Linked DNA regions of Homo sapiens: regions 1, 2 and 3 are each linked to region 4. The links are contacts of gene promoters, found by promoter capture Hi-C in blood cells and fetal thymus (Javierre and others, 2016). All regions are on one chromosome and are shown on one strand. Each heading gives the region's core, a stretch centred on a gene start or on the middle of the fragment in contact. The rest is flanking DNA. Distances are from core to core; before and after follow the strand shown. Region 1 overlaps PML (PML nuclear body scaffold). Region 2 overlaps RPP25 (ribonuclease P/MRP subunit p25). Region 3 has its middle 13 kb from the start of CYP1A2. Region 4 holds the start of UBL7 (ubiquitin like 7).

Evidence for each region. The method cuts DNA at HindIII sites, captures the fragments that hold promoters and counts their contacts. A CHiCAGO score of 5 or more calls a contact.
Region 1: a fragment that was not itself captured here is called in contact with the fragment with the promoter of UBL7 in region 4 in 5 of 17 cell types (fetal thymus, erythroblasts, total CD8 T cells and 2 more); the score reaches 8.3 in fetal thymus.
Region 2: a contact is called between a fragment that was not itself captured here and the fragment with the promoter of UBL7 in region 4, in 1 of 17 cell types (naive B cells). The highest score is 5.7, in naive B cells.
Region 3: a contact is called between a fragment that was not itself captured here and the fragment with the promoter of UBL7 in region 4, in 1 of 17 cell types (M0 macrophages). The highest score is 5.4, in M0 macrophages.

What each region holds. Positions count from the first base shown.
Region 1 is chr15:73,995,240-74,002,381 of GRCh38, reverse strand. PML (PML nuclear body scaffold) reads right to left here. Exons shown (of 9, transcript NM_033238.3): 2 at 3,906-4,378. Among named protein-coding and RNA genes, the nearest start is that of PML, 4.1 kb to the right of the region's middle. RefSeq lists enhancers at 4,292-4,794, 7,084-7,142. The HindIII fragment of the contact is 4,510 bases long and covers 2,901-7,142 here.
Region 2 is chr15:74,948,348-74,956,041 of GRCh38, reverse strand. It overlaps RPP25 (ribonuclease P/MRP subunit p25), which reads left to right. Exons shown (of 1, transcript NM_017793.3): 1 at 1-1,624. The coding sequence ends at 58. Among named protein-coding and RNA genes, the nearest start is that of RPP25, 4.6 kb to the left of the region's middle. RefSeq lists enhancers at 1-520, 521-1,454, 5,306-5,355. The HindIII fragment of the contact is 524 bases long and covers 1,409-1,932 here.
Region 3 is chr15:74,758,617-74,765,560 of GRCh38, reverse strand. No RefSeq gene overlaps it. Among named protein-coding and RNA genes, the nearest start is that of CYP1A2, 13 kb to the right of the region's middle. RefSeq lists a cis regulatory region at 1,829-1,927 and an enhancer at 1,820-1,934. The HindIII fragment of the contact is 6,546 bases long and covers 1-6,272 here.
Region 4 is chr15:74,457,251-74,464,859 of GRCh38, reverse strand. It overlaps UBL7 (ubiquitin like 7), which reads left to right and starts at 3,700. Exons shown (of 11, transcript NM_032907.5): 1 at 3,700-3,823; 2 at 5,964-6,176. The coding sequence starts at 5,993. It overlaps UBL7-DT (UBL7 divergent transcript), which reads right to left and starts at 3,595. Exons shown (of 4, transcript NR_120377.1): 1 at 2,833-3,595. RefSeq lists enhancers at 2,181-2,681, 3,629-3,778, 4,069-4,158, 3,613-4,459, 4,615-5,134 and 1 more. The HindIII fragment of the contact is 11,059 bases long and covers 3,588-7,609 here.

The DNA.
Region 1 (7,142 bases), core at 3,906-6,405, 460 kb after region 4:
AACTTACATATATATGGATATATACATATAGATATATGCATATATACACATATATATTATATACATATATTTGTGTATGTATATATATGTGTGTACAACAAATACAACTTTTCAACTCTAAGGATTATTGCTAGGAATATGTGAGTCCAAGGAATATCCTAGGCCGCTAAGAAAATCTCAATATAGTCTTAGATGTAGAACTCATACAAACTGTATAAACTGGCCATAGTGCAGAAATTAACAAGTATGAAATCGCACCATCACATTCCAGCCTGGGTGACAGAACAAGAAACCAAACATCAAAACCACTTGAAAATTTTAGAAAACACTATTCTCTAAAACTTTTCAAGAGAAAAAAATTTCTTTTTTTTTTTTTTCGAGTCAGGGTCCGGTTCTGATGCTCTGGTTGGAGTGAAGTGGCACCATCACAGCTCACTGCAGGCTCAAATTCTTAGGTTCAAGCAACCCTCCTGCCTCAACCTCCCAAATAACTGGGACTACAAGCATGTACCACCGACCATGCCTGGCTAATTTTTTTTATTTTTTGTAAAGATGAGGTCTTGCTATGTTGCCCAGGCTGATCTCGAACTCTTGACCTTAAGCAAGAGAACCTTTTTAAGAAAAGACTGAAATGAAATTTGAGAAATGATTGACTATGAGAACACTAATGAAGTTATCAAAGTTATGGCATACAGCCAAAACCATATACAGAGAACTTATGCCTTAAAAGAGTTATTATTAGGCAGGGCATTGTAGCTCACGCCTGTAATCCCAGAACTTTGGGAGACTGAGGCGGGTGGATCACTTGAGGCCAGGAGTTCGAGACCAGCCTGGTCAACATGGGGAAACCCCGTCTCTACTAAAAATAAAAAAAATTAGCCAGGCATGGTGGTGGGCACCTGTAGTCTCAGCTACTGGGGAGGCTGAGGCAGGAGAATCACTTGAACCCAGGAGGCACAGGTTGCAGTGAGCCAAGATCTACCACTGCACTCCAGCCTGGGTGACAGAGGGAGATTCTCAAAAAAAAAAAAGTTATTATTATTAAACAATAAAGATTGCAAATAAATGAATTATAAGTTCAAGAAGCTAGAAAATGAATAATGACAAAAGTTAGAAGGAAGAAAATGACAAAAATAAAATGATCAAACAGAAAGAAGGAAAACATTAAAATCAGTAAGCAATCTAAGGAAAGACTAAAAGTACAGTACTTTGAAAAGACTGCTAAACCACAAATATACAACATCAGAAATAAAAAAAGGGGGTATAGTTACAGGCATATAGGAGATTTTTAAATAATGAAAGATAACTCAGGATGAACTGGAAAATCTTCCAAAAATCTGACACAAGAGCCAAAACAGATTAATGCCATGGCAAAAATGGGAAAAGTTCCCAAAAATCTACTATAAAAAAGGCACCAGTTCCAAGATGGTTTTTCAAAAAACTTTTATAAGCCTAAATTTCTTATATTCTTCAAATTGTTCTAGAGCAGAGAAATTATAATAGAATTTTAACATTCACTGAGTATTTAATATGTGCCAGGCACTACGCTAAACAATTTATATGTACAGTTGGCCCTCAGTATCTGCAGGTTACGCACCCGTGGATTCAACAAATCTTGGATCAAAAATATTCAGGCGAAAAAAAATCAATTAAAAAAGTACCACAATAAAAAAATATACAAATTCAAAAATATAGTAAAACAACTCTTTACATAGCATTTACATTGTATTAGGCATTATAAGTAATCTAGAGATGACTTAAAGTATACAGGAGGGGATGGGTACAGTGGCTCACACCTGTAATCCCAGCACTTTGAGAGGCCTAGGGAGGGTTGCTGCCTGAGCCCAAGAGTTCTCAAGACCAGTCTGGGCAATGTCGTGAAACCCTGTCTCTACAAAAAATTTAAAAATTAGCTGAGTGTGGTGGTGCACACCTGCAGTCCTGTATAATCTGGTGGCTGAGGTGGGAGGATTGTTTGAACCCAAGAGATTGAGGCTGCAGTGAGCCACGAGTGCAGCACTGCACTCCAGCCTGGGCGACAGAGCAAGACCCCGTCTCAAAAAATAAAAATAAAATAAAAAATAAAGTATACAGGAGGATGTGTAGAGGTTATATACAAATACTATGCCATTTTATATCAGAGACTTGAGCATCTATGAATTTGAAACAGACTCCCATGGATCCCGTGGGATGGCTGCATTATCACGTTCAAAACATGAAAGCTTACAAATTCATTAAGAAATTAGTATAAGGCTGGGCATGGTGGCTCATGCCTGTAATCCCAGAACTTTGGGAGGCCGAGGCAGGTGGATCACCTGAGGTCAGGAGACCAGCCTGACCATTATAGTGAAACCCTGTCTCTACTAAAAATGCCAAAAAATTAGCCAGGCATGATGATGTGCACCTGTAATCGCAGCTACTTGGGAGGCTGAGGCAGGAAAATGGCGTGAACCCGGGAGGTGGAGGTTGCAGTGAGCCGAGATCGCGCCACTGCACTCCAGCCTGGGTGACACAGCGAGACTCCATCTCAAAAAAAAAAAAAAAAAATTAAAAAAAATTTTTTAAATCCAAAAGATAGAACCAGAGATAAAGCCAATTTCTCCTAATTTATTGCAATTTCAATCAAAATCCAATAAATATGTAAGTTTTAAAACTGCATAAATTGTAAGAGCAAAAGAAATGCATACATTTTTTTCTTTCGAGGAATTTGTTCCTGAATTCTTTAATTAGTCCCTTAATTCCTCAACGGAAACAACAACAACAACAGGCAAAGGACCTAAACAGGCCACTCGCAAATGCAGAAACACAATGGCCAATAAACAAGTGGAAAGCCACTCAACCTTTACAATAAGCTAAGAAACGTGGTGATACCAGCTGTTGAGGAGTCGGAGGGGAAAGCTTATTCTGATAGTGTGGGAAGTTTATCCTAAAGCAGGAAACAAATCACAGTCAGTTTAGCAGATATGTAGTTCAGCAAATATGTGGTTTAGCCATATATAGTTCTGAGTTGTCAAAAACCAGCGAAAAATGCTTTCATTTTGCAAGTGGATCTCTAAGAACCAAGAAGCGCCTTCTATGAACAATCTATTGCTAATGGTGAAAAGTTCACATAGTTATGCTACCTTTTTGGCTAAAAGAGGGAAAATAGGACCTGATAAGATTGCTCCTACCTGCATATATATTCGTAAAGAAACTCTCAGAAGAAACATTCAAAACTAGTAACAATGGCTACCTGTGGATGGGAAGAGGGAGAAGTGGTGGGAATTAGGCAGTTGGGCATGGACAGAAGATTGCACTCTCTCTCTCCTCTTTACAAATTTTGTTCGTGAACTGTACGAATGTATTACCTATTAAAAAACTGAGTTAAAATCTGTTTAATAAAAATAATTACAACTGGATGTGATTTTTTTTCCCCATACAGACATTCTCAGATAGCGCTGCCTGGTGTTAATGGTTTCAACTTTTCAGACAGAAACTAACTACTTGTCTCTGATCCTAGAATCCAGCCTTACTGAGATTCCGTGTCAGTGCTCTCGGAAAATTCCACTAAATTCTAAAGGGCAGTTTGGTAACATGTATCAAATGTAGAATTCCCGTCCCCCTACACCCAGCAGTGGCACTTCTAAAAATTTATCCTAAAGAAGTTACTGGATAAAGATGCAAAGATGATTCTGCAGCATTATTTATTACAGGAGGAAACTGGAAACTTACTATCCACCTGCGTGGGGACTGGCAGCATAAATTGTGGTCATCAACACGGACACTGCATATCTGCAGACCACATTTAGAGTTGCAAGGCCCCAGAAGCTCCTTGTCCTCAGCTGTGTGACTCTTTGGATCTTTGCTCCTCTCGCCCTCTACCTGGTACTTGGATGCACCACCCCACCCTGTGCCGGCCTACTCACCTGGTCAGCGTAGGGGTGCGGTGGTTGGGGTTGGAGCAGAAGATGTTGTTGGTCTTGCGGGTGCCGTCCAGGAACTCACGCACCGACTGGTTGCGCAGCTCTGCTAGGGGCCGGGCCTCGTGCTTGAGGAACCACTGGTGTGCCTCGAAGCACTTGGCGCAGAGGAGCTGCTCGCACTCAAAGCACCAGAAGTCGGCCGACTCTTTGCAGCGGGTGCACACAGCCTGCGCATCCACAATCTGCCGGTACACCGACAGGCGCCGCTGCAGACTCTCGAAAAAGACGTTATCCAGGGCGGGTGTGTCTGCACCTAGGGGCCAGGGCGCCTGGCAGATGGGGCACTGCATGCCCGACGCCTCCAGGCATCCTGAGCACAGCGTGTGCAGACAAGGCAGCAGCTTCGGGCACTTGGCTTCCGCCTGGCATTGCTGGCAGCGCAGAAACTGGAACTCCTCCTCCGAAGCGGGGGCTCGCTGGGGGACCAGAGAGGCAGGTGAGGCCTGGAGAAGTCCCAAAAGCCCCCACCTACCGGCCAACCACCCTTACAGCTGGACCCTGGAGTAGGACCTCATATTCCATTCCAGCCAGTCATTGGATGATGCAAAACCCTGGCTTATCAGCACCCCAATACCCCCATTTATTCAGGCCCTCCAGCTCTCACTGCACCATTTATTGAGCATCTACTTCTCATCACCCACAGTAATAGGCTCTGAGATATAAGAGGTGTAGGATACATTCTGCCTTCAAGGAACTCAGTTTGGAAGGTAGATACACTAAGTACCAACCTCATATAAAGTGCTTAATGCACAGTTTGGGGGTTCATTAAAGAGGTAAGCATGGAACAACAATATGACCCAGAAATTCCACTCTTAGATATATAACCAAAAGATGTAAAAACAAGGCCCAAACAGATACTTGTACAACAATGTCCACAGCAACACTATTCACAATAGACAAAATGTAGAAACAATCCAAGTATCCATCAACAGATGAATAGATAAACAAAATGTGGTCTACACATATAATGGAATATTACTCAGCGTTAGAAAGAAATGAAATTCTGATACATGCTACAACATAGATAGACCTCAATGACATTATGCTAAGTGAAATAAGCCAGTCACAAAAGGTCAAACACTGTATGATTCTGAGGCAGGAGAATAGGGTCTGGAGGCAGGGAACCTAAGGCCGATTCCCTCTGACTTCCTAGAACTAAATCGAAAGGAAAACCGCAACTCTCCATGCCTCAGTAACAAAAGGAAGAGAGGCTACTCTCTTTGCAAATCACCCCATTTCCTGCAGGGCAGATGGAAAATTGAAAGTACGTCTGGTTGGTTGCTTTCTGCAACCAATGGGGTGAACACCAAGTGGCCAATGGGAAACCTCTAGGGGGTATTTGGAACCCAGAAGATTCTGTAACTGGGGTCCTTGAGCCCTGCTCTAGCCGCTCCCACCCTGTGGGGTGTACTTTCATTTTCAATAAATCTCTGCTTTCATTGCTTCACTCTTTCCTTGCTTTGCTGTACATTTTGTCCAATTCTTTGTTCAAAATGCCAAGAACCTGAACAATTTGCAGTCAAGATCCTCTACTGGTAACAATTCCACTTACATGAAATATCTAGAATAAGTAAGTTCATAGGGACAGAAGGTAGATTAGAAGTTACCAAGGGCTAGGGGAAGGAGAAAATGAGGAGCTATTGCATTACTGGGGCTCAGGACACACCACTTCAAAGTATGACTGCAGGAGGCTCTTGAAATATACTTCTTTGGCATATTTTAAGCTGGTTATTCTGAGAAACTGCTGATACAGGAATAGCTCTGAAAAGCTCTCCTTTTGTAAAAAAGAAAGGCATTTATATCTTAAAAGAAAATCTACATTAGTAAAATGATCTATATTAAAAGAGGGCTGCTCCAGACAACTTTTATTATCTAAGAACTTTTAATCTACATAGCAAGACAACCTCTATTCACCAAACAGCTCCTCTCCTCACCCTCCCATAACTTGTGTTATCACCATCACCCAGAAGCTCCAAGCTCTTTTCCGTAGCTCAGGATGTTATACAGGCTTCAATCATCTGACCTTTCTTTGAGTCTCATATATTGTGGGACTCCTGAGTATACATATGTAATTAAATATGGGTTTTCCGCTGGTAATCTATTTTATGACTATTTAATTCATAGGCTATTTAATTCATAGCCCAGCCAAGGAAACTAGAAGGGTGGAGGCAAGCCATCTTTCCCTCCCCTATGGTTTAAAGAGTACAGAGTTTCTGGAGTAATGAAAAAGTTCTGGAAATAGATGGTGGTGATGGTTACACAATATTGTGAATCTACTTAATGCCACTGAATGGTACACTTATAAATGGTTAACATAGGAACTTATCCATTAGGTATATTTTACCACATTTTGTAAAATACAAAAACAGGCCGGGCATGGTGGCTCATGCCTGTAATCCCAGCACTTTGGGAGGCCGAGGTGGGTGGATCACGAGGTCAGGAGTTAGAGACCAATCTGGCCAACATAGTGAAACCCCATCTCTACTAAAAATATAAAAAATAGCCAGGTATGGTGGCGTGGCCTGTAATCCCAGCTACTCGGGAGGCTGAGGCAGGAGAATGGCGTGAACCCGGAAGGAGGAGGTTGCAGTGAGCCGAGATCGCACCATTGCACTCCAGCCTGGGCGACAGTGTGAGACTCCGTCTCAAAAACAAACAGATAAACAAACAAACAAAAAACAAAGCAAAACAAACAAACAACAACAAAAAAAAACCAAAGTGCTTAATACAGTACCTGGCACATTTGAAGTGCTCATAAATGTTACCTAGTATTGTTAAGTAATGTTATTCTTAGTTGTAATAATGTTTATAAAAGTTACTGTAATACGGTGTCCTCTGTACTTTCATGAAGGGGAGTAAAAGGGCCTGAAAGGCAGCAGAGCAAGAAACCCAAGTAGTTCCTTTGTCGGGGGAGGTGGGAGGTGGGCAGGAAAGGTGTGGCAAGAGAAGGGTTCGTTGGGGAGGCTTCCTTAAGCAGAAACCACATGAGCTGGGAGGCCTTGGCAAAGATACCTCTTCAGTCTGAGCCAGTTTCTCACCTCGGATCTGGGAAGTTGGTTTTAGTTTTGCCGTGCCTGGGACATGCCCCTGGCTCCAGGCCAGCGCAACAGGGGTACTACCTCCATCCTCCCTAATCTGAAGTCCTGCATCTGAGGCAAAGTTGAGGCAGGGCTCGAGGGT
Region 2 (7,694 bases), core at 421-2,920, 490 kb before region 4:
CTCCGCGAAGCGATCGCAACCCGAGCCAGGGGTTGCGGACGAGGATCAGACGGCCTGAAACTCCGGACTGTGGGCCACCTAGTCCGGCAGGATCTTCCGCCAGCGCCTCCACCTTCAGATGTACCTCCAGCCTTTCACTCCTCGGTCCTCCGGAGCCCACAACCTGGACACAGCTCCTCAAGACAGGTAGCATGGACCTTAAGGCGACAAGAGAGGGGCCCCAGGAGTGGCAGGAGAGGATCCCCGACCACCCTAGGGAAACTTCGTGCGATAATTGCTGCTTATGCCCGTGTTGCGTGAAGACACGGAACTTCACCTTTTCTGGGACCTTCTTTGGGGGAGAATGGTGGACAGTGGGATTCTGGAAACTTGTTTGGGACCCCCAAGGGTTAAAGCCACCCAGCATTCACGAAGAGCACCTGAAGTATGGAAGCTGAGAAGAGTTATTGGAATCACCCCCACCGTTGACAGAGGAAGGCAGGGGGTGAGAATTAACTGCTTGAGGGTAGGAGAGTCTGAGATGTGGGGGCCCTATTCCGCTCCCCGCCCTGGGACAGTTTTCCTTTCTAGTTTTCTTTCCCCTGCTTCAGAGGAGCATCTCTGAGGGTTCTAGCTCTTTTAACACCCCTTTTCCCCCTGCTGGCCCAGAGGGAGACCCAGGACTGAACTCTCCAGGCCTCCTCCCCTGAGCCCTGCAGCTGGCTGGAGTCTTGCTTCCAATAAAACAAGCACAAAAATGGCTGTGTCCCCCATTTTTTTTCTAACCACCCGCCTGTGCAGAGACAGCTCTCGCCTGGCCCCTTGTGTCTCCCCTCCCCTCCAGCCTTGCGTCCTGAGTCTTTGGAGTCTTCAGGGTCAGGCACAGAGACTGAACAGCTTCAAAATGGTGCAAGGCACTGCCCAGTCCCTGGCTTCTTCCTCTCTCCTCCCCCACTCCGCCCTCCCGGGCTGGCCCTGGCCTCAGAGGCTGTTGCAAATGGGGGCCCGTGTACCCCTGTACATCGCCACTAAGGGAAAGGGAGCGGCACATTGTTTTTCTGGGAGGGGAAGGAAGGAGTGGAAGGACAGCATCGATGAACTCTCCTGGAGGTCACTGCAAAGGGTGGCAGACCCTGCTGAGGTCCCTGAATCTGCAGCCTCCAGACAATAAACTGAACCTTACCCAGAAGGCTGGCACAAAGCCCCCAGCTCTGTGGGTAGGATCTCCCCTTCACTGCCCTCTCTCTGAGAAAGGACAGCACACCCTTGGGAAAGGGGGAGGAGAGAGACTGAGCACAAATCCACTGCTGGAAATTACTATTCAGCAGAGAAGCTGGGTCTTGGGCTGTGAATCACTGCAGGCCTCCTGATAAGCTGCTGCCTCCAGCCCTGCACAGCTGTCTGTTGAGAGATAACAGCCTCATAAGCTTCTCTGCCCAACTCCAAGCCAGCTGGGGGGTGGGGGTGCTGCTGTGTGCTGGAAGAGCTCTGGTGAGTTGGGGGTGGCATACAGCCCCAGGATCTCAGAAGCAGATCTCATCCCATGCAACTCAGCAGCACCCCTGGAAAGGGGGAGATGCGGAAGAATGTATTTATAAGTCATTTTGCTGGCAGAACCCTGAAATAAATCCTGCTGGTGACAAGAGATACGTTCTGTGGCTGACTGGAGGGGCTCTTAGGGAGGTTTCCCTCCCCTGCAGTATCTCTGCTTGAGCTTTGGAGTGAGCTTTGTCATCCAGACTTTGTCCCTCGTTGCTCTCCCCAAATTCCTGCTCTTGATGAGTCCCTGGAGAGGGCCAAGGGGTTTGGGTTTGCTTGTCTGACCCTCTCAGGGGTGGCCCAAGAAGCATGGAAAGAATGTAAACTGTCCTGACAAGATGGCCTAGCTTCTCCTGGACTTCAGCATCTAAAGGCAGTGATAAAACTTGGACAAGGTCCTGCATGGTAGAAGCTTAAGGGAGACTGGTCTTGGTTCTGAAAAGGGTCCAACTTTCCAAGACAACAAGTGACTGATAGCCGGGTTACCAGGACTATGAAAGCAGGGCCTGAGGCCGGGCATGGTGGTTCATGCCTGTAATCCTGTAATCCCAGCACTTTGGGGGGCCAAGGCGGGCAAATCACGAGGTCAGGAGCTTGAGACCAGCCTGGCCAACATGGTGAAACCCCGTCTCCACTAAAAATACAAAAATTAGTCAGGCATGGTGGCGGGCGCCTGTAATCCCAGCTACTCAGGAGGCTGAGGCAGGAGAATCGCTTGAACCTGGGAGGCGGAGGTTGCAGTGAGCCGAGATTGCATCACTGCACTCCAGCCTGGGCGACAGTGTGAGACTCCGTCTCGAAAAAAAAAAAAAGAAAGCAGGGTCTGCTAGTCTTGTCACGGAGATAAGGCTGCAATGGATTTTTTTTTATTATTTTTTTTGAAACGGAGTATCTCTCTGTCGCCCGGGCTGGAGTGCTGTGGTGCGATCTCGGCTCACTGCAACCTCTGCCTCCTGGGTTCAAGCGATTCTCCTGCCTCAGCCTCCTGAGTAGCTGGGATTACAGGCGTGTATCCCCACACTCGGCTAGTTTTTGTATTTTTAGTAGAGAAGGGGTCTCACCATGTTGGCCAGGCTGGTCTCAAACACCTGATCTCAGGTGATCCACCCGCCTCGGCCTCCCACAGTGCTGGGATTACAGGCATGAGCCACCACACCCGGCCTCTCTTTTTTATTTTTTTTATTTTAATTATTATTATTATTATTTTGAGAAGGAGTCTTGCTCTGTCACTAGGCTGGAGTGCAGTGGTGCAATCTCAGCTCACTGCAACCTCCACCTCCTGGGTTTAAGCGATTCTTCTGCCTCAGCCTCCCAAGTAGCTGGGATTACAGGCATGTGCCACCACGCCCAGCTAATTTTTGTATTTTTAGTAGAGACGGCATTTCACCATGTTGGCCAGGATGGTCTCAATCTCTTGACCTTGTGATCCACCTGCCTTGGCTTCCCAAAGTGCTGGGATTAGAGGTGTGAGCCACCACGATTTTATATATATATATATTTTTTCGCCCGGCTGTAGTGCAATGGCACAATCTCAGCTCACCGCAACCTCTGCCTCCCAGGTTCAAGTGATTCTCCTGCCTCAGCCTCCGGAGTAGCTGGGATTATAGGTGTGCACTACCACGCCCGGCTAATTTTTTTATTATTAGTAGAGATGGGGTTTCACCATGTTGGCCAGGCTGGTCTCAAACTCCTGACCTCAGGTGATCCACCCGCCTCAGCCTCCTGGAGTGCTGGGATTACAGGCATGAGTCACTGCTCCCGGACTCTTTTTATTTTTTTATTTTATTTTTTATTTTGAGACGGAGTCTCACTCTGTTGCCCAGGCTGGAGTGCAGTGGCACAGTCTTGGCTCACTGCCGCCTCCGCCTCCCAGGTTCAAGCAATCCTCCAGCCTTAGCCTCCTGAGTAGCTGGGATTACAGTCGTGGGCAACCATGAGCAGCTAATTTTTGTATTTTTATTAGAAACGGGGTTTCACCGTGTTAGCCAGGCTGGTCTTGAACTCCTGACCTCAACTGATCCACCCGCCTCGGCCTCCCAAAGTGCTGGGATTATAGGGGTGAGCCACTGCCCCCGGCCTGCAGTGGATTTCTCTTGATGGGTCAGAAAAGTTCCCTTCCAGCCCAGAAACCTATCCTGGGGGGTAGAGAAGAGAGGAACATGTTTATCCAGCATCAGAGCATTAACCTTCCCCCAAGCAGGTCATGAAACACTTTCTTTTCTGCACTCCCGCCCCACCCCGGCAAGTTTGGTTCCCAGGCTTTCAGTAGGTGTGCTGACTCACCAATGGAACCCAGCACGCATGAGCACTCCATCTCTGCCCTACTGATTTCTGGCCCCACTGACCTAGGAGCAGGCTCCAAAAGAAGGTGACAGATGTTCCTCTACCCGCTCCCCACCACCAAGGCTGAAGTGGGAACCTCAGAAGTCCTGGGATAAAGGGAGGGGTGGCTAGGGGAGCACCTCAGAGACAAGGCCCATTTCAGGAGCCGACTAGTGGCAGAGTGGGAGAGTCCCTCTTGTGAAACCCCATTTTTCCAATAGTGGTCTCTACCCAGGAGCTTCCTGGACCCAGCCTGGTGCTTGCCTTGGCCCCGCCTTGGGATACTTCCAGACTAGGAGCGGCAGTGAAGTCTCACACCTAGAAAACTTAGGTCACAAAAACAAAATCCATTTGGAAACATAAAAGTATATAATGCAAGGCCCAGAGCTCATGGTCGAATGAGTGATGGACTTCCACCTGAGCCTTCATTCATTCAACAAGTGTTCACTGTTGTACCGGGACCCAGTCTAGAAATGGGCTGGGGCTGGGTATAGAATCACAGCATAATCAGACACTGTACCTCAAAGAGGGCCGAGTCTTGGCCAGGTGTGGTGACTCACGCCTGTAATCCCAGCACTTTGGGAGGCAGAGACGGGGGGGGGGGGGTCACCTGAGGTCAGGAGCTTGAGACCAGCCTGACCAATATGATGAATACAAAATTAGCCGGGCATGGTGGCGGGCGCCTGTGATCCCACCTACTTGGGAGGCTGAGGCAGGAGAATCGCTTGAACCCAGGAGGTGGAGGTTGCAGTGAGCTGAGATGTGCCATCGCACTCCAGCCTGGGCCCATCTAGCACAGTGTGATGATAGAAGATGGGAGCTCTGAGAAGGGGAACTTACCTTGCCCAGAGGTGCTGATGGAGCTGGTTCTCCAAGGATCAGGAGTTAGCCAGCTGACCAAGACTGGACAGGGAGCTCCAGGCAGAGCATAGAGAGCGGGTGTGTATGATGCTGAGGCTGCCACAGGTGTCTGATGGATAGAGGAGATGGCAGAGGGTAACGTGTAGAGATGCAGGTGAACTAGAGTGCTAGGTGGGAGCCAGGTCACAGGGAAGTGAGGGAGCCGGTGGGAGCCAGGTCACAGGGAAGTGAGGGAGCCACTGGGAGCCAGGGAGTGCTCTGAGCCCAGATCTGACTGGTGTTTGAGAAGGATCCCTCTGACACCTGTGTAAGTGGGAGTGGATTGGAAGGGGGTCTGATTAGACCCTAGAGACAATGCAGGGATAAGAGATGAGACATCGGCAATGCGGAGGGAGATGGGAGCAGATGTGAGAGCTACCCAGGCTAGGTAGGATTTCACTGCTATTACAGCCAGGAAATGGGAGGGTTCTCCTTGAGCATTAACCCTGCCTGGCCAGGACTTGGTCTGCCTTTCTGGCACCCCAGGGGACGTGCTATGTCAGGACCAAACAATGGAGTGATTATTTTTTGTGGGAGGTGGGAGTACCCAGCTTCAAATTGGTAAATCTTTAAGAGCTGTTGTCCATTGCCATGAATCTGCCAGAGTGTATTCACTTCACTGTTAGGTGCATACCTGGGCCAGACACACACACTGCCTACCCCCACCACCCCTTGCCCTTCATCTCCCAAGCTGATTAGTTCAGTTTTGGTCATTGCTATGCCCACACTGACCACTAGGTGATGCTCTCGTCCCTCTATTTCACTGAGATGTTGAAACACTCGCAGGTCTCCAAGAGAATGGTAGTTAGAAAGGCAAAGGAAAGGAAGGAAGGGAAGGAGAATGAAAGAGGAGGAAAATGCAGCCACAGGAGGGTCTCCTCAAAGGCATCAAGTTTCTTCCTTTCAGAGCACAGATACTGGTTTATAAGTGTGTCCTCATTAGTCTTATCTTTTGGCTATTGGTCACCCTACTAACCCATGAGCCCGTGATTGACTGGATCCTGCCTGCCTTGCTCCTTGCCCAGCTCCTGGCACATGAGAAGCTCTTAGAGAGTTGTTGATTGAATGGACTTGCCGCTGGCCAGGCACAGTGGGTCATGCCTGTAATCTCAGCATTTTGGGAGGCCAAGGTAGGAGCGCTGATCACTTGAGCCCAGGAGTTCCGAGTCTAGCCCTGGCAACATAGTGAGATACCATCTCTACAAAAAAAAAAAAAAAAAAAAAAAAAAAAAATTAAATAGTTGGATGTGGTGGTGTGTGCCTGCAGTTCAGTTACTCAGGAGACTGAGGTGGGAGGATTGCTTGAGTCTGGGAGGTCCAGTCTGCAGTGAGCCATGATCACTCCACTCTTTCAAACCAACAAAAGACTTTCTGAGCCAGGTTTCTGAACTGTTCTGATGTCACATTACAATTCTTAACCATCCAACCAATGGCCAAAGCTGCCCCTATCTCTTCCACAGCTTCTCATCCCATCTGAGCCCTTGGGTACCCCTGCCTTTGGAGAAGCTAGGGTCACCATGGCAATTGGGTTTGTATATTCAGCTTGAGGATTCCAGTGTTGTTTCTGACACCTGAATATTATAGGTGCTATGAATTGAATTTCGTGCCCCCCCACCAAGACATGTTGAAGTCCTAATCCCTGATACCTTATTTGGAAACTCTGGCTTGGCATGGTGGCTCATGCCTGTAATCAATCCCAGCACTTTGGAAGGCCGAGGCAGGTGGATCACCTGAGGTCAGGAGTTTGAGACCAGCCTGGCCAACATTGTGAAACCCCATCTCTTCAAAAATACAAAAATTGGCCAGGCGTGGTAACTTATGCCTGTAATCCCAGCTATTCAAGAGGCTAAGGCAGGAGAATGACTTGAACCCAGGAGGTGGAAGTTGCAGTGAGCCACCAGATTGTGCTACTGCACTCCAGCCTGGGTGACAGTGAGACTCTGTCTCGAAAAAAAAAAAGGAAAAAAGGCTGGGCACGGTGGCTCACGCCTGTAATCCTAGCACTTTGGGAGGCCGAGGCGGGTGGATCACCTGAGGCTGGGAGTTCGAGACCCGCCTAACCAACATGGAGAAACCCTGTCTCTACTAAAAATACAAAATTAGCCGGGCATGGTGGTGCATGCCTGTAATTCCAGCTACTCGGGAAGCTGAGGCAGGAGAATCCCTTGAACCTGGGAGGTGGAGGTTGCAGTGAGCCAAGGTCAAGCCATTGCACTCCAGCCTGGGGAACAAGAGCGAAATTCTGTCTCAAAAAAAGAAAAAGAAAAGAGATTCAGCAGATTTAATAAAGATCTAAATTAAGAAATTAGGATGAGGTCATATTAAGTAAAATGGGCCCTTAATCCAATACAATTTAATTCAATGAGGAATCCTTATAAAATAGAGAAGAGACAGAGATTGATTACACAGAGGGAAGAATACCATGTGAATATGGAGGCAGAGGTTGGATTTATACACCTGCAAGCCAAGGAAGGTTGCAAATGACAGAAGCTAAGAGAAAGGCATGGAACAGATACTTCCCTAGAGTCTTCAGAGAGCATGGCCCTGCCCCACTTGATCTCAGACTTCTAATCTCCAGAACTGTTAGACAATAATTTTTTTTCTCTATGCTTTTTTCTTTTCTTTTTCTGCGATGGAGTTTCGCTTTTGTTGCCCAGGCTGGAGTAAAATGGCGCGATCTTGGTTCACTGCAACCTCCACTCCCAGGTTCAGGTGATTCTCCTGCCTCAGCCTCCTGAGTAGCTGGGATTACAGGCACCTGCCACCACGCCCAGCTAATTTTTGTATTTGTAGTAGAGATGGGGTTTCACCATGTTGGCCAGGCTGGTCTCGAACTCCTGACCTCAGGTGATCTGCCCACCTCGGCCTCCCAAAGTTCTGGGATTACAGGTGTGAGCCACCGCGCCCGGCCTCCTCTGGGTTTTAAGCCACCCAGCCTGTAGTACTTCATTATG
Region 3 (6,944 bases), core at 1,750-4,249, 300 kb before region 4:
GCCAGGCATGGTGATGCATACTTGTAATCCCAGCTACTTGGGAGGCTGAGGTGGGAGGATCGCTTGAACCTGGCAGGTGGAGGCTACAGTGGGCCGAGATTGTGCCACTGCTCTCCAGCCTGGGCGACAGAATGAGACTTCGTCTCAAAAAAAATTGTAGTTTGCCGATTGTAGGTGCAGCCAAGCATCTCTTTATATTTTAAAATATATTTGTGTCTGTTAACAGTTCATGTTTTTCATCTATTTTTTACTGGATTGTTGTTTTTTTTTTTTTTTTTGCTTTTTGTTTTTTGACATGGAGTCTTGCTCTGTCACCCAGCCTGGAGTGCAGTGGCGCGATCTCAGCTCACTGCAACCTCCGCCTCCCTGGTTCAAGCAATTCTCCTGCCTCAACCCCCTGAGTAGTTGGGATTACAGGCACGTGCCACCACGCCCGGCTAACTTTTGTATGTTTAGTAGAGACGGGGGTTTCACCATATTGGCCAGGCTGGTCTCGAACTCCTGACCTCGTGATCCGCCCGCCTTGGCCTCCCAAAGTGCTGGGATTACAGGCATGAGCCACTGCGCCCGGCCTGGATTTTTTTTTTTTAATAGGAACTCTATATATTAAAGAAATTAACCTTTAATCTGTGCATCATTCAGGGTCCCCAGCAGGAAACAGTTTAATTCGAGGAAGGATTAATACAGAGATTATTACACGGGGTTAGGCAGGGAACGGTGGGGGCCCTGAGAGGGTAGTGCCTGAAGAATGCTACTGGGGGAAAGAGCTGCATGGAGAGGATTGCCTCAGAGGACACATCCCCATCTCCTGTGAGAGCCTCCATTCTATGAACCCGTCTAGGAGCCAGAGGGCCAGGGAGTCTGTGGATAGAAGCCCCACAGGTCAGCTTCCCCTCACAGAGCACGGGATGGAGGGGGACTGAAGGGGAGAACTGGAAGCCAACCGGCTTATGTTCCTTGTGTGTCTTCCAACTTGGTTATGATTCTTTGGAATGCAGAAATGATTGATTTTTATGCAGTGGAATCAGTCTTTTCTTTTGCCGCTTCTGGACCTGTGTCAAACTTAGAAAGGCTTTCTCCACTCTCATACTACTTTAAAAAAATCAATTCCTTGCCAGGTGTGGTGGCTCACACCTGTAATCCCAGCACTTTGGGAGGCCAAGGCGGGCGGATCACCAGGTCAGGAGATCAAGACCATCCTGGCAAACACGGTGAAACCCCGTCTCTACTAAAAAATACAAAAAATTGCCAGGTGCGGTGGCTCACGCCTGTAATCCCAGCACTTTGGGAGGCCAAGGCGGGCAGAACACGAGGTCAGGAGATCGAGACCATCCTGGCTAACGCGGTGAAACCCCATCTCTACTAAAAATACAAAAATATTAGCCGGGCGTGGTGGCGGGCGCCTGTAGTCCCAGCTACTCGGGAGGCTGAGGCAGGAGAATGGCGTGAACCTGGGAGGCAGAGCTTGCAGTGAGCCGAGTTTGTGGTGGAGGCACTGACCCAGAGCGCAGCCTGTCTGGTGTGCGATGGTTGCTGAAATTTGCCCAACTGTGCTCAGCTACTTGTTTTATCACTGTGGACCCCCAAAACTCTGGGCAGGGCCTCAGCTTCCCGCCCCCCACTACTGCTGTCCAAGGAGGTAGAGTTACCAGTCCAGGTCTCCCAGCCCTCAGATGTAACCATGGCCCGCCAGCAGGAGCAGAAGCATGCTTCCCAAACCTGCCTGATTACCCAGCCAGCCACCCCACTCCAGCCCCCACCTTGGAGGAAGCACTAATCTGGGGACTTTGAGATTCCATGATTCTCACGGCAAGAAGGACTCTCAGACACGCGAGCCAGCGGCTCCCTTGGCCCTGAGGGCACAGGAGATAGAGGCACACCTGTAAACACATGCCTGGCTACAAACACGCACATACCTGGCTGGCGTGCTGAGCCACCTGAACTGACACCTGGAGAACTCACGCACAGGCATCCACCTGACCACTCCAGGCCACATCTGCCCATGCGCATGCACCCGCTGAGAGCTGGCACTCACGTCTGTTGTTGCCTTATCGACACACCCGAGACTAGGGTTCAAAATGCGTGCCCACGCCTGCTCCCAGCCCCTGCCGGCCCACTGGCACTTTCAGCTGGGCCACCCCAGGTCAGCAAGGCCCAGGGCAGGGTCAGTTTCAGCCAGGCCCCCCAACTCTTCATATTTTCTAGCTGGGGAAATTGATGTCCAGAGTTTCTGGTCAGCAGCCAGCCTGGTGGGGACCCTCTGAGCTATCCTGCTAAGTGTGGATAGGCACGGTGCAAGAACAGCTCCTCATCTGCTCCTGGCCTCCTCCCTGACCCCTGCCTTTAAGAGCCCCCATCTGATGGTGGAGCTGCTGAGACCCCTGGAATGAGTGTGATTGTGTATGAGAGAGAGAGAGGAATGCGGGCCTGTAAGGGAAGTGTCACTACACAAATGAAACTGAGCTGAGTGTTCCAAAAATTTGGGGGGAGAGCATCCCCCAGCCCTCAACAGCATGCCCTGTGCTCTCCAGAGGCATTTCTGGGACCACACCCCTATCTGCAGCACAGGCGTTTTGGCCACTCTGAGCTGGGCCCTTCTCTCTCTCATGTTTTCTGGCTCAGCTGCTGGGTCCCTGATCACCCCTAGTCTGGCTCCTTTCCCTCAGCCTCTCATGCAGTTGGCCAGCATTCCTCGAGACGACTCCGGAACAGGCTACACACGGGGGACACAGAGATGAATGAGAACAGGGCCCTAGACTCTTGTGGGGAACCCAGCCCAGCCCCAGAGAGAGGGTCTGGGACCATCTTCTCTGAAAGAGGGGGCGGGGGAAGCCAGTCCAGGTGGTGAAAACAGGATGTCCCAAGGGTGGCAGGCCTGGAGTGCACAGAGGCCCGCCCCTTGAGCAGCATGGGGGTCTCCAGACTTCCCTGGGGCAGACGTCAGGGGGGCGGCGGCCTGTCCCACTGGGAGGTGAGTTTCCTTCCGGCAGCTCCTTCTCACGCAATGGGCGGGAAGGGGTTGGGGGCCCATTGTTCCCTGGCACGCTACCACCCCCAGCCCTCCCCAGCTTCTGGGTGGGGGGAGCAGTGGAAGGAAGTGGGCTGAGCCCAGGCCCTGGCAAGACCCCAGTGAGAGAGCGCAGGGTTTGGGGAAATGCTGGCTCACGTGTGGGCCTGGTGTGTGCACAGCTGCACATGCCACACGTGTGTCGGGGGTCCATCTTGCCCTGAGTCCACCTTTCTCAGGATTTCTGGTGTGTGTGTGTGTGTGTGTGTGTGTGTGTGTGTGTGTGTGTGTGTTGTACCCTGACCTGTAATTTGGCACTTTACACACATTATCTCATTAAACCTCCCACCCAACCTGTAAGATAAGATTATCATCCCCAGTTGCGAGATGAGAAAGTCTAGACTCAGAAAGTTTATGTCACAGGCCCAAGGTTAGTGGGTGAGCTGGGATTTTCTTCTGGATCTGTGAGCCAGCCTCTGGTCTCATCTCTTTTCCCTTTCCCAAGCCCTGTAATTATCTTAATACTGGCCTGGGGTGGAGGGGTAAATACAGAGGTGAAGGCCTGGGGGAACCTATTGAGTATCACCTATGCCACTATGTTATCTTAAACCCAGAAAAACCCGCTGGGCTGCAGGGCCCACAGGGAGAGTGCAGGTCCCTCAATGCAGAGCAGAGTCTGCTTCCCTTATTAGTGCAGGGTGATGGGCATCGGGCAGGCTCCTTGCCCAAAAGTGCCCCCCTCCGCCCCATTGCACTGCCTGAGAGGCTCCATCGCAGCTGTACTCCAGAGGACTCTAGTGAACCTGGTGTTATGTCATGGCAGAGGGGTGGACAGAATGCAGGGTCTCAGAACTAATTTTGAGGGGGATCACTAAAGAATGGGGAGCTTGGCTCAGGGTATGGCTACCTCTGGTGGCAGTCCCCTCTCAGGGACAGGAGCCAGTGATAGGGATAAGATATAGGGCAAGCTCATGGACTGACGCTGAACTGCATAAACCCTGGTCTAGTCAGCCTCTGCTTGGTTCCCCCACCCAGATGGTATACTCACTACCATTCTTTCAGAGAGTCTGCACCCTCCTCAGATTCCTTTGTCAACTGGAAAATCCTTCCTTGGGGGGCAAGTTACTTTAAGACTGAGATTTGGCTGGGCATGGTGGCTCATGCCTATAATTGCAGCACTTGGGGAGACCGAGGTGGGTGGATCACCTGAGATCAGGAGTTCGAGACCAGCCTGGACAACATGGTAAAATCCCATACTCTAATAAAAATACAAAAATTGGCCGGGCACGGTGGCTCACGCCTGTAATCCCAGCACTTTGGGAGGCCGAGGCAGGCGGATCACGAGGTCAGGAGATCGAGACCATCCTGGCTAACACGGTGAAATCCCGTCTCTACTAAAAATACAAAAAATTAGCCAGGTGTGGTGGCGGGCGCCTGTAGTCCCAGCTACTCAGGAGGCTGACGCAGGAGAATGGTGTGAACCCAGGAGGCAGAGCTTGCAGTGAGCTGAGATCGCACCACTGCACTCCAGCCTGGGCGACAGAGCGCGACTCCATCTCAAAAAAAAAAAAATTGGCTGGGCATGGTGGCACATGCCTGTCGTCCCAGCTACTTGGGAGGCTGAGGCAGGAGAATTTCTTGAATCCAGGAGGCGGAGGTTTCAGTGAGCCGAGATCGCACCACTGCACTCCAGCCTGGGCGACAGAGCAAGACTCCACCTAAAAAAAAAAAAGAGAGAGAGAGGCTGAGATTTATCTGGGCAGATCTGGGTGAGGGAGACCCCAGTGACTGAGTTCATTTGCATAGGGACTGAGTGGAATCCTGGGAGGGAGGTCACCCTTAGGGAAAAAAGAGCCAGGCAAGACCACCTGACCCAGTGTTCCAACCTTAGTTAGAGCAGTGTAAGCTGGTTTGCAATGGGGTGTGTGTTAAAGCTATTTCTAATTTGTTGTTAGGAGGTCTCAACCTGGGAGTCACGGGAAAAGATGAGAGCAAAGATAATTTTCTTTGTAGTGTGGGTGTGAGGAGAGGTGGGCAGAGCAGAAAAGTGACAAATGGAGGCTTTTGTGTGTTCCGCTAGCTTTCCGCTGTGCCATTGTTTCTTCCAGGACTTGTGTGCAGGGATCCCTTGCTGAGGTAGCTTAGACCCTGTGACCCTCACTCTGTTGCCTGTGGCTATTTACCAGGGTAAACATTGCTCCAAGGGGACCCAACCACTGACTGACTGTGGTCTCTGACCTGTGTAGCCTGGCTGAAAAAGATGAGCTGAGCCAATCAAACCCCTCTCTCAAGAAGCTGAAACTAGGCTGGGCGCGGTGGCTCACGCCTGTAATCCCAGCACTTTGGGAGGCGGGCGGATCACGAGGTCAGGAGATCGAGACCGTCCCCGGTGAAACCCCGTCTCTACTAAAAAATACAAAAAAATTAGGCGGGCATGGTGGTGGGCGCCTGTAATCCCAGCTACTGAGGAGGCTGAGGCAGGAGAATGGCATGAACCCAGGAGGTGGAGCTTGCAGTGAGCCAAGATTGCGCCACTGCACTCCAGCCTGGGCCACAGAGCAAGACTCCATCTCAAAAAAAAAAAAAAGAAGCTGAACTAGCTCGGCACGGTGGCAGGAGACTGAGAGACTGAGGCAGGAGGATATTGCTTGAACCCCAGGAGTTTGAGGCCGCAGTGAGCTATGATTCGCCAGTGTACTCCAGCCTGAGGGACAGAGGGAGACCCTCATCTCTTTAAAACAACAAAAAACAAACAAACAAGAAAGACCTGTACTAAGATATAAACGAAAGATCTGGTATCTGGTTGGTGGTAGATGCTTGACATAAAGGGAGTTGGGGATCTGAACTGAACAGGTGGGGAGGTCTAGAGAAGTCTCTTAATTTTCCCTACCAGGCAGAGGTGGGATTCCCAGCTCAAGGTTTTTCCCACCATTCTACCATCTTTCATTCCACCATCTTTGCCAAAAATCACCCCTCACCGGGTACACTGCACTTCGAAATTTGCCAGGCACTCACTGGATTTGCCCACAGCCTTATTAAGCAAGAGGCTGGCAGAGCAGGGGTCATTGCTAGTGGCCTGAACTTCAGGCTAATGGTGCTGGAGAAGACCTCACAGAAGGCTGAAGATGGGGTCGAGGCCTGTGAGGGGTGGGACTGGCCCAAGGTCACCCACACTTGGAACCTGAGTGCAGGACTCCTAGCCCTCTGGCCAAGAGCTCTTTCTAACTCTCCATGCCGTTCCTTGATCATGTAGTGTTTCCAAGCTTCCTGTTCCAGTCCCACAATCCTGACTCAGGGAGAGACACAGGTAGGGAAGAGACCCTGGAGGTGGTATAGGGCAAATGGTGCAGTCCTGAATCTCTCCACCACACATGCCCTCCTCATGCTTCCTGAGCCTCAGGCTTCTCATCTCTAAAGTTGGTATAACAGTACCCATCTCCTGTGGTTGTTGTGAGAATAGCCTGAGATGATGCGTGTCCAGGGCCTACCAGGAAAAGATAGAACAGGCTGGTCCCACCTGCCTCGTACCTGCTGTGGGAGGCAGGAATGGCAAGCAGCGGGGCGAAGTCTCCAATTCCTCCTACCTTGGCTCTGGCCAGAGGGGAGCTCTAGGCCAACCAGTTAAAGATTGGCCAGGTGTGCATGAGAAGCTCAAGCCATCTCCAGACCACAGTGAGCCAGATGGGGCAGTGGCTGTATGGTGACCATCGAGCCACCTCAGATCGGTCCTGAAATTACCTCAGGGAGCTGGGCCCTGCTGATTCTTAGATTGGCAAAGTATGGCAATGCCTGCTTGCGGCTTGCCGGGAGGTTTTTTTTGTTTTGTTTTGCTTTTTGTTTTGGGACAAAGTTTCGCTCTTGTCGCCCAGGCTGGAGTGCAATGGCGTGATCTCGGCTCACTGCAAACTCTGCCTCCGGTGTTCAAGCGATTCTCCTG
Region 4 (7,609 bases), core at 2,451-4,950:
CAGTAGCAATAAGCATCCCTAGTGCCCAGATTGTGGTCTTAATATACCATTTCCCACAGAAAACCATATGAATTTCTTGAAGAAATGGCTAATTTTTATGCCTAGGGCAGGAAGTACAAGATTAGCTAGGAACTCTTGTCATGCTAGATAGCAGGGAGCTATCAAAAACCTCCAGGGTTATGTCAAAAGGACTCAAGAATCAAGTTGAAGAGGAGGCTCCATTGTTATGGTACTGTATTAGTCTGTTCTTGCACTGCTATAAAGAACTACCTGAGACCAGGTGATTTATAAAGAAAAGTGCTTTAATTGACGCACAGTTCTGCAGGCTATACAGGAAGCATGGCTGGGGAAGCCACAGGAAACATACAATCATGGCAGAACGTGAAGGGGAAGCAAGCACATCTTCACATGGCAGAGCAGGAGAGAGAGGGCAAAGGGGGAAGTGCTACACACTTTTGAACAACCAGATCTCTTGAGAACTCACTGTCATGAGAACAGCAAGGGGGAAGTCTGCCCCATGATCCAAACATCATGACCTCCCACCAGGCCCCTCCTCCAACATTGAGGATTACAATTCAACATGAGATTTGGGTGGGGACACAGAGCCAAACCATATCAGGTACCATGAATGTCAACATGAGAAAATACAAGTATATTGTGGAAAATGAGAATCAAGTTTCCTACTATTGCAGAAGGGAGGTAAAATTATAGAGAAGAGGAAGACTAGAGGAAAATATGTGGTATTGGATTGGAATTTGAGGTATTGGTGTGAACTCATATTTTATATATACATATATATTTTGATATATGTGCACATATATATGCTCACATATACATAGATCTATATATACATATACACATCTATATGCACACATATTTAAATATATTTCATAGAAATATAGATGAATGGGTGTGTATATCAATATTCATTTATTTGCTAGGTCTAGTCACTGAAATAGACTGGAAATAATGACATCTCAGTAGCAATAAACACACCTAGCATCCAAACTTGGCTTCTAAATACCATTCCTTACTAAAAGGAACTAAGGCTCTTTGGAGAAATGAATGATGTGACAGATGTGAAAATCTATGACATAACTTATGAAAATGGCAGAGAGATGATCAGCCTCCACCCAACTGGAATGGTTGATGAAAGCTGAATGAGATTGTAAGTTACATGGTATTATTGTATTTATTAATTTCTTGATTTTGCTGGGTTGTACTGTGGCTGTGACATAGAATATATCCTTGTTTTCAGGAAATACAGAAATACTTTGGGTAATGTCTGTAATTGGCTCTTAAACGGATCGGGTGGAAAAACAAAAGAACAATATGCATAGTGAGAGAGTGAGAGAGAAAGAATGATGAGGTAAATGTAAACTATTAACAACTGGGGACTTTGGGTTAAGGGTATGAGGGCATTATTTTGTAATATTTTTGCAACTGTACTGTAAACTTGAAATTATTTCAAAGTAAAAAGTCTCAAGAATATTTGAGCACAGGGGAAATATTCAAGCTAGGTAAAATATGTAGATTACTAAACAAATGTACAGTGTAATCTAAATTTTGTTGAATATACATATTTAAGATTCAGTAAAATTATACTTTTAGAAGCATAAAACAAAGTTAACAATTGTCATCTATTGGTGATAGAATAGCCATGCCCCTCTTAAAGCCAAAAGGCTAGCAGATATCAAGACCTACTCTAAAGTTAGAGAAATCAAGACGTGTGACATTGGCACAATGACAGAAAAATACACCCATGGCACAGAATAAGAGTCAAAAATTGACCCAGACATACATAGTCACCGGATTTATGACAAAGCTGCCACTGAAATTCAGTGGGAACAAAATTTTTAAATAGTGCTGGATCAATTGTACACCCATATGGAAGAGATGAATCTTGATGTCTAACTCCTATCATATACAAAGATTAATGTGAAATTAATCATAGACCTAAATGTGAAAGATAAAATAACACAGAAGAAAACCTAGGATAGTATCTTCATAACGAGGGCAGGCAAAGATTTCTTACATAGGACACAAAAGGCACTAACCATCACAACAAAATTTCAGGCCGGGCGTGGTGGCTACCGCTTGTAATCCCAGCACTTTGGGATCACCTGAGGTCAGGAGTTCGAGCAGCCTGGCCAACGTGGTGAAACCCCGTCTCTACTAAAAATACAAAAATTAGCCGGGCGTGGTGGCAGGTACCTGTAGCCCCAGCTCCTCAAGAGGCTGAGGCATGAGAATCTCTTGAACCCGGGAGGCGGAGGGTGCAGTGAGCCGAGATCGGCCACTACTGCACTCCAATCTGGGCGACAGAGCAAGACTCCGTCTCAAAAAAAAAAAAAAGTTTTAAAATGAAATTAAATTATCTAATACCATTAAGAGTAAAAAAAAAATCATGAACTGGGAAAGTATTCACAATATATAATTTTGATAAATTATGGAGCTCAGGTGCAAGTAACTTAGTAGGCAGGAGAGGAAGGAGTCTAAAGAAGTCTAGTTAGGAAGGATTACTGAAAGAGGGGGTATATCTAAAAATGGGTAGGATGGGAAAGGGAGACTTTGGGAACAGCCATGGGTTCCTAATGCGCCCACAACATACATGGGAGTTATCCTGAAGATAAACTCCCTGAAGACAGTGAAAGCCATTTCAAAACTCCCCATATAACTTATGAGAACAGAGGGGTGATCTGCCTTTAATGTTAGGCCTTCTGAGATCCTGCGATCTGTTCGCTCTCCTCAGTAACATTACCCTGCTCAATTGCTGCCTTAATCCCAGGTCGCACATTGGAATGTGGGAATTCAGCGTTTACATTTACCCACACAGGATCAGCCTTCAGCTGCTACGATCAACTTCAGTATTTTCATATAATCACTTTTTTCTTTCCTTAGTTCTTGAATTATTAATTCCTTGAGAAGAGTCCAATCAGAGGTAGTCTTTCTTCAGTATTTTCGGTAATCCTAATTTCTGTGCAAAAAAATTTCTGTTCCATTTTAACCGTGCAGAACTTTCTGTTATCTAAAACACAGTTTCTCTATGAGAGTTCAGTGAAAATTCCCCTTCCCAAACTGATTCTATGAATGACTGTTAGATAAGCTTCACCACTGCATGTAGAGGGTGTACCAGGAACCCAAGTTAGTAGCTCTCCTCAAAGACCCAACTTTTGGAGGGGGTCATCGTCTGGTTCCTGGTATGCCTCCACAGGTAGGTCCGCCTCAGGAAGTCAGCGGCGAGGAGCACAGAAGAGGCTGCCTTCACCAACGGACAGCAGTTTTCATCGTGAGGGCCGTCGGCAACCGCTTGGATGTGTCTAAAGGGGCCGTTTGGGAACCGGCCCTTCTGGAGGGAAGGGTCGGAGTGGGAGGGGATCCGGGATCCGCCTTACGGCCGAGTGTCCAGCAGCGCGTTCCAACCTGGCAGAACCGACGTACTTCATATGCTCCTCAGGGGAGCGCGGGAATCACCAGGCTGAAGAATGACTGGAAATGGGACCCTCTCCAACCAAAGCACCCAGACATTCCGGCGCCGGACATTTCAAAGAGCGCGGAAGCCACGCCTTCCCCCAGAACCGGAAGCTTTGCAACTAGCGCCTCTTGTAGACTGGCTGTTTATAAGGGGGCGGGGGGCCACAGCGGGAACTGCAACTCCCAGAATGCAGCGCGGAATTTCCGGTTTCCGGCGAGAGGGCCAGAGTGAGTGTTTACACCGGCGGCAGTGCGGCCGGGTTCCTTCCGCGGGACGGGTGAGGGCGCTGGGGCCCTGGGCAGCGCGGGCTCGATGTGTGTCAGCCAAGTAGCTGGTCCCACTGGAGCGGTGAGGTCGCCACCGGATAGTGTTCCTGCCCCATTACTAGCGATCTGTGACCTTGGGCCAGTGATTTTACTGAGTCTTGCTTCCCTCATCTTTAAAATGTGGCTAATGCCTGCCTTAGGGAACCGTTGTGAGGATTAAGTGAGACATGGTATATAAAACGACCTCCTTCTGGCATAAACTTGAGGTGGAAGATACCTTGAGGATGCTTGAAGGTCTGCTAGGCAGCTTCACAGCCTTTTCTTTCCTCTTCTCTATCAGAGGTCTCTTTGGAAGCAATAATGATGACTATAACAAGAACTTATCTTGCTTTGCAAGATTCTTCCGCCGTCAGAGTTTCTGATTTATTTTCTGGGGTTCCATGTATGCCAGGTATGGGGACAAGGATGAAGAAAACTTTAGTCTTTTGTTTTCAAGGGCATTCAAGAATTGGGGTGGAGGAGGGGGCAAGCAGATATTTGTAGCCCTTTTGTTCTGAGGGGATGTGGGAACAACAGAGGAAAGAGAGGGGACTGAGGTTATTGAATCTGTGTTGGTTTCGGTAGGAGTTTGCTAAAAGGCCAAAAAGGGAAGAGAAATTACATGCAGAGTTAGATGAGCAGAGGTGTAAAATAGGGGAGAGCTTTGTTATGAGTGTGTACTTACATGTTGTGGAGGTCCTTTGCAGGGGTAGGGCTCTGTTGGGGAATGAGGCTGGCAGGGAGTTTTGTAAGCCAGGCGATGAAGTTTAGACTTAATTTATATAGATGGTTTAGAGGTATTGGAAGAGGTCTTTTTCTGGGGGGCCGGGGTGGGGCAGGGAGGGACGGAGTCTCTGTCGCCCAAGCTGGAGTGCAGTGGCGCTATCTCGGCTCACTGCAACCTCCACCTCCCGGGTTCAAGCAATTCTCCTGCCTCAGCCTCTCAAGTAGCTGGGATTACAAGCGCCTGCCACCACGCCCTGCAAATTTTTTCTATTATAGTAGAGATGTAGTTTCACCATGTTGGCCAGGCTGGTTTCAAACACCTGATCTTAAGTGATCCGTCCTCCGCGGCCTCCCAAAGTGACAGGATTACAGGTGTGAGCCACCGCGTCTGGCTTTTTTTTTTTTTTTTTTTTTTTTTTTTGCGACAGAGTCTCTCTCTGTCACCCAGGCTGGAGTGCAGTGACGTGATCTTGGCTCACTGCAACCTCAGCCTTCCGAGTAGGTGGCACTACAGGTGCGCACTACCACGCCCAGCTAATTTTTGTATTTTTAGTAGTGACGGGTTTCACCATGTTGGCCAGGCTGGTCTTGAACTCTTGAGCTTAGGCAATCCGCCCGCCTAGGCCTCTCAAAGTGCTAGGGTTACAGGCATGAGCCACCGCGCCCAGCCCGACATTGGAAGAGTTCTAAGCAGAGAAGTGACTTGGTCAGATCTGTGTTTTAGAATGATGGGTTGTGGCCAGGCGCAGTCGCTCATGCCTGTAATCCCAGCACTTTGGGAGGCCGAGGCAGGTGGATCACGAGGTCAGGAGATCGAGACCATCCTGGCTAACACAGTGAAACCCCGTCTCTACTAAAAGTACAAAAAAAAAAAAAAATTAGCCTGGCGTCGTGGCGGGTGCCTGTAGTCCCTGCTACCTGGGAGGCTGAGGCAGGAAGGCAGGAGAATGGCGTGAACCTGGGAGGTGGAGCTTGCAGTGAGCCGAGATCGCGCCGCTGCACTCCAGCCTGGGCAACAGAGCGAGACTCCGTCTCAAAAAAAAAAAAAAAAATGATGGGTGTTGTTAGGTGGCAGCATAGATATTTGATAGGGAGAGGCAAGAGGCAGGGAACTTGTTATAAAGCTGTTCTACTGGTTCAAGCAACAGTTGAAGAAAATTGGAAAAAGGGGCATACAGAAGGGAGAGGGTTAGATGATCTCTCTCACAACATTCCTATTAGATTGGATGGCGTTTTTATGTCCACGTTAGGGATGAAGAAACTGAGGCCTAGAGAGCTGTCCATCACAGTATGAGTAGAGAGAGAACCCCAGATTCTAGTTCTGGCCTCCTGATGGTACGCCCTATGCCTCTTCAACAGTGTCACATTGAATTGTCTTTCATTCAACCCTTTGGTGGGTGGGGGTGGAGTAGAGTGGTGGTCTGTCTTTTAACCACTGAGGTTTTGTTCTTTTACAGGGAGAAAGAGAGAGCGCGAAAGAGAGAGGATGTCTCTCTCAGACTGGCACCTGGCGGTGAAGCTGGCTGACCAGCCACTTACTCCAAAGTCTATTCTTCGGTTGCCAGAGACAGAACTGGGAGAATACTCGCTAGGGGGCTATAGTATTTCATTTCTGAAGCAGCTTATTGCTGGCAAACTCCAGGAGTCTGTTCCAGACCCTGAGCTGATTGGTGAGTCTCTCTGGACTGGGGTTGGGCTGCTGCTCTGATCTCTTTTGGGGGAGGATACTTCTGGAATTACAAGAGTAAAGTAAGGGCTTGGGATTTGTTGCCTCATAATGTTAACACTCCAGGGAAGTGAATGTTGGGTAAATAGAAACACAAATCATATAATGAAACTATTGGTTGCCATTTCAGCCATGTATTATACTGAACTACCTTATCACCAGGTTCTTTATGACATTGTCTTGTTTTTTGTTTTTGTTTTTGTTTTGCTGTGTAGCCCAGGCTGGAGTGCAGTGGTGCGATCTCGGCTCACTGCAACCTCTGTCTCCTGGGTCCCAGTTCAAGCAATTCTGCCTCAGCCTCCCGAGTAGCTGGGATTACAGGCACACACCACCATGCCCAGCTAATTTTTGTATTTTTAGTAGAGACATGGGATTTCACCATGTTGGCCAGGCTGGTCTTGAACTCCTAACCTTGTGATTCTGCCCGCCTCAGCCTCCCAAAATGCTGGGATTACAGGCATGAGCCACCGCTCCTGGCCAACATTGTGAATTCTTTTTCTGAAAGAACAGAAGTTTGGGATGAGTTAGGAAAGGAGAAGTTGGTCAGGGGAGGCTCCTCAGTATATTTGAGGTAGGTCTTCAGGGATGATTAGAAGGATTTTTGCTTGGTTGACTGAGTAAAGGAAAGGCAGTAAAAAAGAAAAAGTGGCGTGGGCAGTCCAGGTGGAGGAGGGAGGAATTTAAATATAATTAAATTACACTGAAAAGGTAATTTTTAATAGCTAAAGGATCCAACTGGCAAGAAAGATGTTTTCAGTCATACCTGGATTGGGTTCATCCTATTTTGTTGTTTTTCCATTGATTTAAATTGGGCAGCCTCCACAATGTTAAACTCCAGAGTTTTTCTGTGGATAGATTCTGTGTGAATCCTTTTTTTTTTTTTTTTTTTTTGAGACGGAGTCTTGCTCTGTTGCCCAGGCTGGAGTGCAGTGGCGAGATCTCAGCTCATTGTAACCTCTGTCTCCCAGGTTCAGGCAATTTTCCTGCCTCAGCCTCCTGAATAACTGGGATTACAGGCCCGCACAACCACAACTGGCTAATTTTTGTGTGTATGTGTGTATATATATATATATTTCTTTTTTTTTGAGACAGAGTCTTGCTCTGTTGCCCAGGCTGGAGTGCAGTGGTGTGATCTTGGCTCACTGCAACCTCCGCCTCCTGGGTTCAAGCAATTCTCCTGCTTCAGCCTCCTGAGTAGCAGGGATTACAGGCGTCTGCCACCATGCCTGGCTAATTTTTGTATTTTTGGTAGAGACGAGGTTTACCATCTTGGCCAGGCTGGCCTTGAACTCCTGACCTCAGGTGATCCACCCACCTCGGCCTCCCAAAGTGTTGGGATTACAGGTGTGAGCCACCGTGCCCGGCCCTAATTTTCGC